2 separate regions of the Homo sapiens genome follow, and region 1 is linked to region 2. Evidence: promoter capture Hi-C in 16 types of primary human blood cells and fetal thymus (Javierre and others, 2016). All regions are on one chromosome and are shown on one strand. The core of a region is centred on a gene start or on the middle of the fragment in contact, and the rest is flanking DNA. Distances in the headings are between cores, read along the strand shown. Region 1 overlaps GKAP1 (G kinase anchoring protein 1). Region 2 holds the start of IDNK (IDNK gluconokinase).

The links. Contacts are between HindIII fragments. The CHiCAGO score rates a contact against its expected background, and 5 or more counts as called.
Region 1: a contact is called between a fragment that was not itself captured here and the fragment with the promoter of IDNK in region 2, in 4 of 17 cell types (activated CD4 T cells, naive CD8 T cells, non-activated CD4 T cells and 1 more). The highest score is 6.9, in activated CD4 T cells.

The regions. Positions count from the first base shown.
Region 1 is chr9:83,774,995-83,779,374 of GRCh38, reverse strand. The region is part of intron 7 of GKAP1 (G kinase anchoring protein 1); the gene reads left to right. Among named protein-coding and RNA genes, the nearest start is that of GKAP1, 41 kb to the left of the region's middle. The HindIII fragment of the contact is 1,843 bases long and covers 455-2,297 here.
Region 2 is chr9:83,620,744-83,625,221 of GRCh38, reverse strand. IDNK (IDNK gluconokinase) reads right to left here and starts at 2,079. Exons shown (of 5, transcript NM_001001551.4): 1 at 2,001-2,079. The coding sequence starts at 2,050. RefSeq lists enhancers at 1,475-1,524, 1,545-1,674 and a silencer at 1,855-2,384. The HindIII fragment of the contact is 10,566 bases long and covers 1-3,460 here.

The DNA of each region.
Region 1 (4,380 bases), core at 127-2,626, 150 kb before region 2:
AAACGAAATCTATCTCTTAAAAAAAATCACATCTAAATAATTTTGTGATTGTATTAATAATTTAGTTCCTAACTATGCATGCAAACACAGAATTGATTTGTTGTTGAAACAGATGGTCAATTTTTTTAAAAGTTATTTGCAAACCATTGTCATCATTTTTTAGATTAAAATTTAAATGACTACATATATAGACTGAATATTAATTCCATGTTTGAAAGTGGAAAACATACTTTTGAACTGATTCCAATTTATTTTTGTCCATTGATTTATTTGGGGGATAGTGTTATACAAATAAGAAAGCAGATACACATGGTGTACCTGCTCCTAAGACAACTCTATAAACTGTTTGATGCTTGCGTTTTCTTCTTTCCTGATTTGAAAGAAGACAAAAAATGCAAACTGACAAGATCCTACCTATTTAATATATTAAAGATGAGTTGTATTTAAACAAGCTTCTGTATGTAGAATAATATATCTTGTCTTTCCTTATTTTAGAGCTGTGTTCTGTCTTGTTAAATAATCTGATATATAATAAAATTCATTTTGAAGATTTCTGATTAAGTTCCACATTTGTAAATACAGTCTAATTATGATTTATTTCCCTTACAACTATATTAAGAATTTGGTTATAAGAATATGTAATTCACATTATCTTTATTTTTGTTTTTGTTTTTTAACTTTTAAAGTTCAGGGGTACATGTGTAGGTTTATTATATAGGTAAATTTTGGTCACGGTGGTTTGTTATACAGATTATTTTGTCACCCAGGTATTAAGCCTAGTACCCATTAGTTATTTTTCTTGATCCTCTCCCTCCTCCCACCCTTCACCCTCTGGTAAGCCCCAGTGTGTCTTGTTCCCCTCTATGTGTCCATGTGTTCTCATTATTTAGTTCCCACTTAAAGTGAGAACATGCAGTATTTGGTTTTTGTTTCTGCATTAGTTTGTTAAGGATAATGGCATCCAGCTCTATCCATGTCCCTGCAGAGGACACAGTCTCATTCTTTTTTATGGCTGCATAGTATTCCATGGTGCATATATACCACGTTTTCTTTATCCAGTCTACCATTGATGGGCATTTAGGTTGATTCTATGTCTGCTATTGTGAACAGTGCTTCAGTGAACATATGTGTGCACGTGTCTTTATAATAGAACCATTTATATTCCTCTGGGTATATATCCAGTAATGGGATTGCTGGATCAAATGGTATTTCTGTTTTTAGTTCTTTGAGGAATCGCCACACTGCTTTCCACAGTGGTTGAACTAATTTACATTCCCACCAACAGTGGATAAGCATTTCTTTCTCTCTGTGACCCTGCCAGTATCTGTTATTTTTTGACTTTTTAGTAATAGCCATTCTGACTGGTGTACCTTTTGATACTTGTTAAAAGTATGCCGAAATTATGTTCCATTTCCATTAGAGGCATTTCTTTCTGGGACTTAAATATTTAAATGTTACAACGGTTATACCATTGATCTAGAAATTTAGAAGATCTTTTTTTCCACAGAGAATCCAAAAAAGCCTAAAGAAAATTCCAATTTGAACTCTCAAACAAAATGTTATTTGCTCCTACAAATGAACTAGTTTTGTTAACGTCGTATGCTGAATGATTAACTTAATTCATTCCATCTTTAATATATTACTTAGGCCAAGGGATTTTTTTTTCATGGCTACTCTTAAGTTCCTAACATCTGTGGCAAATAATATTCTTCTTACCTACCTCCCCTTAAATCAGATATTTATTGGATAACATTCAGAAGGGAAAATATTTTACTTTATTGATGGGTGATGAGGTGTACTTGAACTGCATATATATTCTTGGTGCTAGCTAAACTTGTTCTCAGGTTAATTTCATTATTTCTTTTTTCTTCTGTCTAGAGTAGGTGCTTGTACATACCTCTTTATAAAATCTCAACAAATCATGCCTTTTCAGGAGTTTTATTTGATTCTTAGTCTTTTTTCTTCTGTTGGACTGAAGTTGTTTTGTTTTTTAATATGTTGCTTTTTAAATGCCAGAACTGTTAGGAAGGGTATCTCATAGATACTCATTTCTCTCTAGTCCCAATTTTATCTGGCCTTCCAAACTCCAGTCCTTCTAGTATGGTTTTAGTTTTAAAAATCTTAGTGATCATCATATGTCTTGAAGTCTAAATGATCCAGTCTTCAATATGCTTGAATGCACTATCATTGGAGGAGTACCCAAGAAACTGTAACAGTGGTTGTCAAAGGTGGCAGTGGGGGAGATATTGGACAGAGGGATAGGAGAAATAGCCTGCCTGCTTTTTACAGTATAAGCTTCTGAATTTTCTATCATGTCCGTGTACTACTTATGTAAAAATTATATTAAAAATAAAAAGAACTGTGTGAAGAAAGGAACCAGGGAACAAACCCAGTCCTATCTGTCTCTACAACCTACTTCCTTCTTATAGCACTGTGCTTTAGCACTAATGCTCCACATGTCTACCTTTAGCTGATTATGAGCGTGGACAAATAATTTATTCACTTTAGGCCCTAGTTATATTATGAAAAGTAATGTTGGATCTGTTGATTTCTAAAATTATGATAAATGATCAGAGTGCAATTGAAATAAAGAATAAAGAAAAATACGCTAAAAAAATGAACCCTATTGTTAATGCTACCAACACACAGGAGTGTAGCAGTAATCAAATTAGACTATTAATTTTATTTTTCTTTCTGAGATGGAGTCTCGCTATCTTGCCAAGCTGGAATGCAGTGGTGCAACCTCCACCTCCAGGGTTCAAGCGATTCTCGTGCCTCAGTCTCCCGAGTAGCTGGGGTCTACAGATGTGCACCACCATGCCCAGCTAATTTTTGTATTTTTAATAGAGGTGGGGTTTCACCATGTTGGCCAGGATGGTCTCTATCTCTTGACCTCGTGATCCACCTGCCTCGGCCTCCCAAAGTGGGATTAGAGGTGTGAGCCACTGCACCTGGCCTAAATTTTTTATTTTGTTTCTTTTCTTTTTTTTAGGTTATTAAATTTTAAAAGCAAATAAATTTAATCTAGCTTTAAATAAATCTCACCTAGAATCTGGTTTTACCTAAAGATTCAACCTATTTTCTATTCTTCTCAGTGTGTTGAGCTCATTCTTGTTACTAAGCCTTTCCTTGTTTGTATGTGTTACATTTGTTAGCTCTCTTTGGTTATAAGCAACAGAAGCCCAACTCAATCCAGCATAAACAAAACAGAGACAGTTATTTGGTTAATGTAACCACATCATGGAAGAATAGGGGGAGAGTTGACCTCATAGTTGACTGGATCCAGGCATTTAGACAGCTTTAGGACTCTCCATTTCACTCCCTACTCTCAGCTGCTATCTGTTCCTTCACTTCAGGCGAGATCACATGATTACTTGGGAATCTCGGGGTTATAGCTTTACAGAATTTCTTATAAACTGTTAATTAGCTTTTGAGGTTTGATAGATTCATTTCTTTTTCTTTTCTTTTCTCTCTCTTTTTTTTTTTTTTTTTTTTTTTTTGAGACAGAGTCTCTCTGTGTCCTCCTGGCTGGAGTGTAGTGGCACGATCTTGGCTCACTGCAACCTCTGCTTCCTGGGTTCAAGCGATTCTTGAGCCTCAGCTTCCCGAGTAGCTGGGATTACAGGCGCCCAGCACCACGCCCAGTTAATTTTTTATTTTTATTAGAGACGGGGTTTCACTGGGTTGCTCAGGCTGGTCTCAAACTCCTGGCCTCAAGTGATCTACCGGCCTTGGCCTCCCATAGTGTTGGGATTTCAGGAGTGAGCCACTGTGCCCGACTCAAGTTGTTTTCTTTCAAAAAAAATTTTTTTTTCCTTTTTAACATCTGCCAAGGCTCTGTCATCCATCAAGTTGTTTTCTTGAGGAGTTGAGGGAGGCAAGAATATTTCCTAGATGGTGTGATATATTTCCTATCATATCACATCGGGGTCATAGAATATGAGGTTATTTTTATGATGTTAAATTGATTACTGTTTCTAAAACCATTCTCCAGTAAAAGGAACCAGGACTCGTTGGAGAAATGGCTGTATCTAGGGCGATGACAGGGAATATACAAGACGAGCCCAGAGCCAGGCATGGTGGCTGGCGCCTGTAATGCCAGCTACTTCAGAGGCTGAGGTGAGAGGAATGCTTGAGGCCAGGAGATCCAGACCAGCCTAGGCAACATAGTGTGATCCCATCTCTAAAAATTTTCATAAACAAAATTAGCAGGCTCAGTGGTGCACACCTGTAGTCCCAGCTACTCTGGATGCTGAGGCAGGAAGATCATTTGAGCTCAGGAATTCCAGGATGAGCTATGATAGCACCACCGCACTCTAGCATGGGCGACAGAGTGAGACTTCATCTCTTAAAAAAAAAAAAAGAAGGGGCCGGGCGCGG
Region 2 (4,478 bases), core at 830-3,329:
AATCTTGAATCATCCTTGACTTCTCTCTTGTCTTCTTACACCCAACATCCAGTCCACAAACACATCTTTCTGACTCTACCTTCAAAATATTGCCAGCATATGACCACATTCTCTTTACCTGCATTGTTTCTGACTTCATCTCCCATCATGCTTCCCCTCACTCAGCCACAATGGGTTCCTTCCTGCTCCTTAAAGAAGCCAAGCCTTAGCTGGGCGCGGTGGCTCACGCCTGTAATCCCTGCACTTTGGGAGGCTGAGACGCATGGATCACCTGAGGTCAGGAGTTTGAGACCAGCCTCGCCAACATGATGAAACCCCGTCTCTACTAAAAATACAAAAAATTAGCTGTGCATGGTGGTGGGCGCCTATAATCCCAGCTACTTAGGAGCCTGAGGCAGGAGAATTGCTTGAACCCGGGAGGAGGAGGTTGCATTGAGCCAAGATTGCACCACTGCACTCCAGCCTGGGCAACAGGAGTGAAGCTCCGCCTCAAACAAAACAAAACAAAAAAAAAACAAAAGAAGCTAAGCCTCAGAACCATTGCACCTGCCATTCCCTCTGCCTGTCCTGCCCTTTCCTCAGCTATCCACATGGCAGGTTCCTCAAGTCTTGCAGGTCTTTGCTGAAACGCCACTCCCCCAGAGGAGACATCCCTGACCACTCTGCCTGGCACTCTTTGTTCCCCTTACTCCAGAGCATCTATCACCAACTCACACACTACATATATTCATTTACTCTGTCTCCCATACCAGAATGTAAATCCTTTGAGGGCAGGGATTTTATCTGTCCTGTTCGCTATATGACAATGACATAGAGTAAGGATTGAGCTCAATAATTACTGAGTACATGAATATCACAAGCTATACATCATAGGGATTAGGCCTCCCTCATCTGATTCAAGACTCAGAGGGGGTACATGAACTGCCCAGGCTCACACAGCCAGACAGCAACAGAACCAAGACCTAGGGCTCTTCACTCCTGTTACATCACACCATGGCAATGATTTTACATTCTCCAACTGATTCAAATCATATGGCAGCTAGGGATTTGGGGGCTCCATGTTTTATTTCAATTGCAGTTCAAGATTTCTTTTTATCTTTGTGGCTGAGAACCCTACAATAATTTTGGAAAGCAAAACCCATCTACCTGGAGTAAATCTTTAATATACACCTGACTACACAGGCCACAACATGGGCCGTTCCTGATTCAGAAAATTCTAGAAGGGTCCTATAGGCCCTTGAAGGTTATGATGTTTTAGCTGATCAAGTTCTGTCCTTTGCTGCCTGTGGTCGAATGGTACAGCAGCTGTCTTTTCTGATAAAGGGCACAGTTAGACTTTGGTTTAAACAGGAAGCCAAATGTTAACTCCTCAGTCTCCAGGTTAGCACACTGGGCTACCTCTGTGGTTTCCACAATTCTCTTCTTTCTTTCCAAACCCTCAGGAGCCACCCTCCATATTAACGCTGTCTCCTTCCAGGTTAAGCTGATGAAAGGAAGGGGAAAACGATTCACTTTCCAAAATTGAATCGGAGAAGTCCAGGGCCTCATAGGAGGAGGCCGCTGTGTGTCCAGATGGCCAAAGGTCTGTGAGAGCCTGGGCCGTGGTTTGCGTCCTCTCGCTAGAGGCCGTGCGCCCTCCCGCCTGGCCCCGACAAGGCGCCCCGAAACCTAGCCCCGCGCCGCTCGCTAGGCCTCCACCTGCGCGGCCCCGCAGCCGCCTGTTCAGGAGCGGCTTCCTCCCTGAGCCTGCGGTCGCCGCAGCCTCCCCGTCTTAGAGCGGGAACCCGGAGCTCGGATGCGGTCCCAGGATGGGCGCCCCGCGAGCAGGCTGGAGGGCGGGGAGAGGGCGCGGCAGCCGCGGGCCTCGGTTTCTTCATCTGCAAAGGGAAGGGTGGGGGGTCCCCAAGACCCCAGTCCACCGGCAGGGACGGCGACGCGTCCGGCCTCCGCCGCGCCCGCAACACTTGTCCCGGGCGCCCCCCGCCCTCTCCCGGACCTACTTCCCCGAGCCGCTCACGCCCATCACCAGCAGCGCGCCCGGCGCCGCCATAACCCAAGCTCGGCTCCTTCCCGTCGCCTTCCGGGCCCCGCCGGCCCCGGCCTACCCGGCGCTCGAGGGGCGGAGCCGCTCTCGCCCCGGCCGGGGCAGTGAGGGCCGTGCCCCTCTGCGCCCTCCCCGTTTTCCCGCGCCCCTTTTCCATGCTTTCCTCCTCCCTTTCCCAACCTCCCGGCCTCTCTCTCCTGCCCCTTCTTTTCCTCTCCCCTCCCCTCCCTCTTTCCTCTTCCCGGAAGTGAAGCGCGCGCCCGGCCTGGCACTCGCGTCTCCCTGGGCTGGAGGGAGCCGCCCAAAGCCCCGCCACCTGTCGTTCTACTGCCCCGGCCCCTCTTGGTTCCAGAGGATCCTCACCCTGGCAGGCCGGATCCTCATCCACCCATGGAAAGCATTCATTCATTCATTTATAAAAATGTTCTTGTAAAAAGAATAAACAGAAAATAAGACTCATAATTTCCCACACCAGGCAGCAATAAGCAGCACTTCCTAAAACGACTCCCCTTTCCCCGCGCCCCGTCGTAGATAGATGGGTATGAGTATTTTGTAAAACTGGGATCAGGCCGTACACAGCGTTTTGTAATCTGGCCTTTTGTCACAATAATAAATGGCGGCCATCTTTTGGTGTCAAACTTAGGGTTGAGTGTTGACCGTAGCAGCATATGTCTTGGCTGTATGGCTCTGCTGTTAAATCCAGCACTGGTTGGGGCTTTAAGAGGAAGGAGCACCACTTTAAAGTGTCCATTTGCTTTAAAACAATGTTAATTATGTGTCGTTTGAACTATTTGATTAAAAGCACTTCTTTTTTTTTTTGAGACGGAGTCTCGCTCTGTCGCCCAGGTGGGACTGCGGACTGCAGTGGCGCAATCTCGGCTCACTGCAAGCTCCGCTTCCCGGGTTCACGCCATTCTCCTGCCTCAGCCTCCCGAGTAGCTGGGACTACAGGCGCCCGCCACCGCGCCCGGCTAATTTTTTTTGTATTTTTAGTAGAGACGGGGTTTCACCTTGTTAGCCAGGATGGTCTCGATCTCCTGACCTCATGATCCACCCGCCTCGGCCTCCCAAAGTGATTAAAAGCACTTCTAACCGCATTTGGCATCACCTCCTTTGGTCTTTTGTTAACCAAGGTAGGTATTACTCTGTGTCCTAGAAAACAATAAAAGTGACATAAAAGCATTTATCTAATGAATAGTTCAATTACCCCTGCACTGCCTTTGTTTTTCATATACTTAGCCCGAGTAGGTGAGATTTCAATCTGGATGGGGGCTGTACAGGTGAAGAAATTGAGGCTTGGAGAGAGGTCTTACAATTCAGTTATGGTCAATACACATTTCTTGAACATCTACCATGTGCTGGTTAATATCATATTAATATTCATTTAAAAGATTACCCTCTAGGCATTCTCAAGCTTGATAAGAGGAATAGATGTGTATGCAAATACTCTTAACTCGTGCCCTGCTTCGCTAGCTCAGTATGAAAAAAAAAAGCTCATATTTCTTTCAATGTTCAAATCAGAATGATTAGCAGAAAATCTGATTCTTCTCCTTGGATTTCTTTCCCCAGACATGTCCAAGGATCTTAAACTTGCTGTGCTGCTCAGGGTGGTGGCAGGAAACAGCATGCTCAAATTGGGGCAGGTGAACAGGATTTAACAAAGGGACTATTAGCACAGGTGTGGGTAGGGTCAGAAAAAGCAACTAGGGGCAGAGTCCACATCTGAGTAACCGAGAAGTGTTTTCACTCTTAAATAGAAAGGGGCTGATGAGAGGGAGCCTTTATATGGGAAGGGAAGAGAATGGAAGGAGAGAGACAGAGAGAATAGACCATATAGAAAGAAGTGTCTGACAGGACTGTAGCCTTAGGAAGAGAGAGATAGACATTCCTTGTTGACCCAGCAGAAAAATAATCAGGAGAATAAATAACCTCCCCTCCCCTCCTCTTGCCCTGTGATCTCCTGCTCGTGGCCAAACCCCACCAGCCAAACCCAATTGGAAGGTGGAGAGCTAGGGAGTCCGGCGGTGCCCATGCATGCCAATTTCCTGGGCTCAGAGCAGGGAAGAGAAGGGTGGAGATTGTATCTGGAGGTACCAATGAAAGATACCCAGCATGCCAGTGTCAGTGAAACTCTGTGCCTGCTTCCAGGACAGCGGAACTTCAAAGGTGCCCCTAAGAGCTGAATTCCACGTTTTTTTTTTTGCTTTCCAAAGAGTGCCACCTGCTGGTCCTGGTTGTCTCGGTGCTTCCCAGCTGTTACTATGGGGCAACCCAGATGCTGAATATTGGTCTGGTTTTAGGTCCTGTCTACTGCAAGAACTGTTGTACTGAGGCACATGGTACTCTGGAAACCCCGAGTCCCTAGCGAGGCACAGCTTCTTGCATGCGTTTCTATAGTCACTCAAGTCCAGATCACCCCCAGATTCTGGACAGC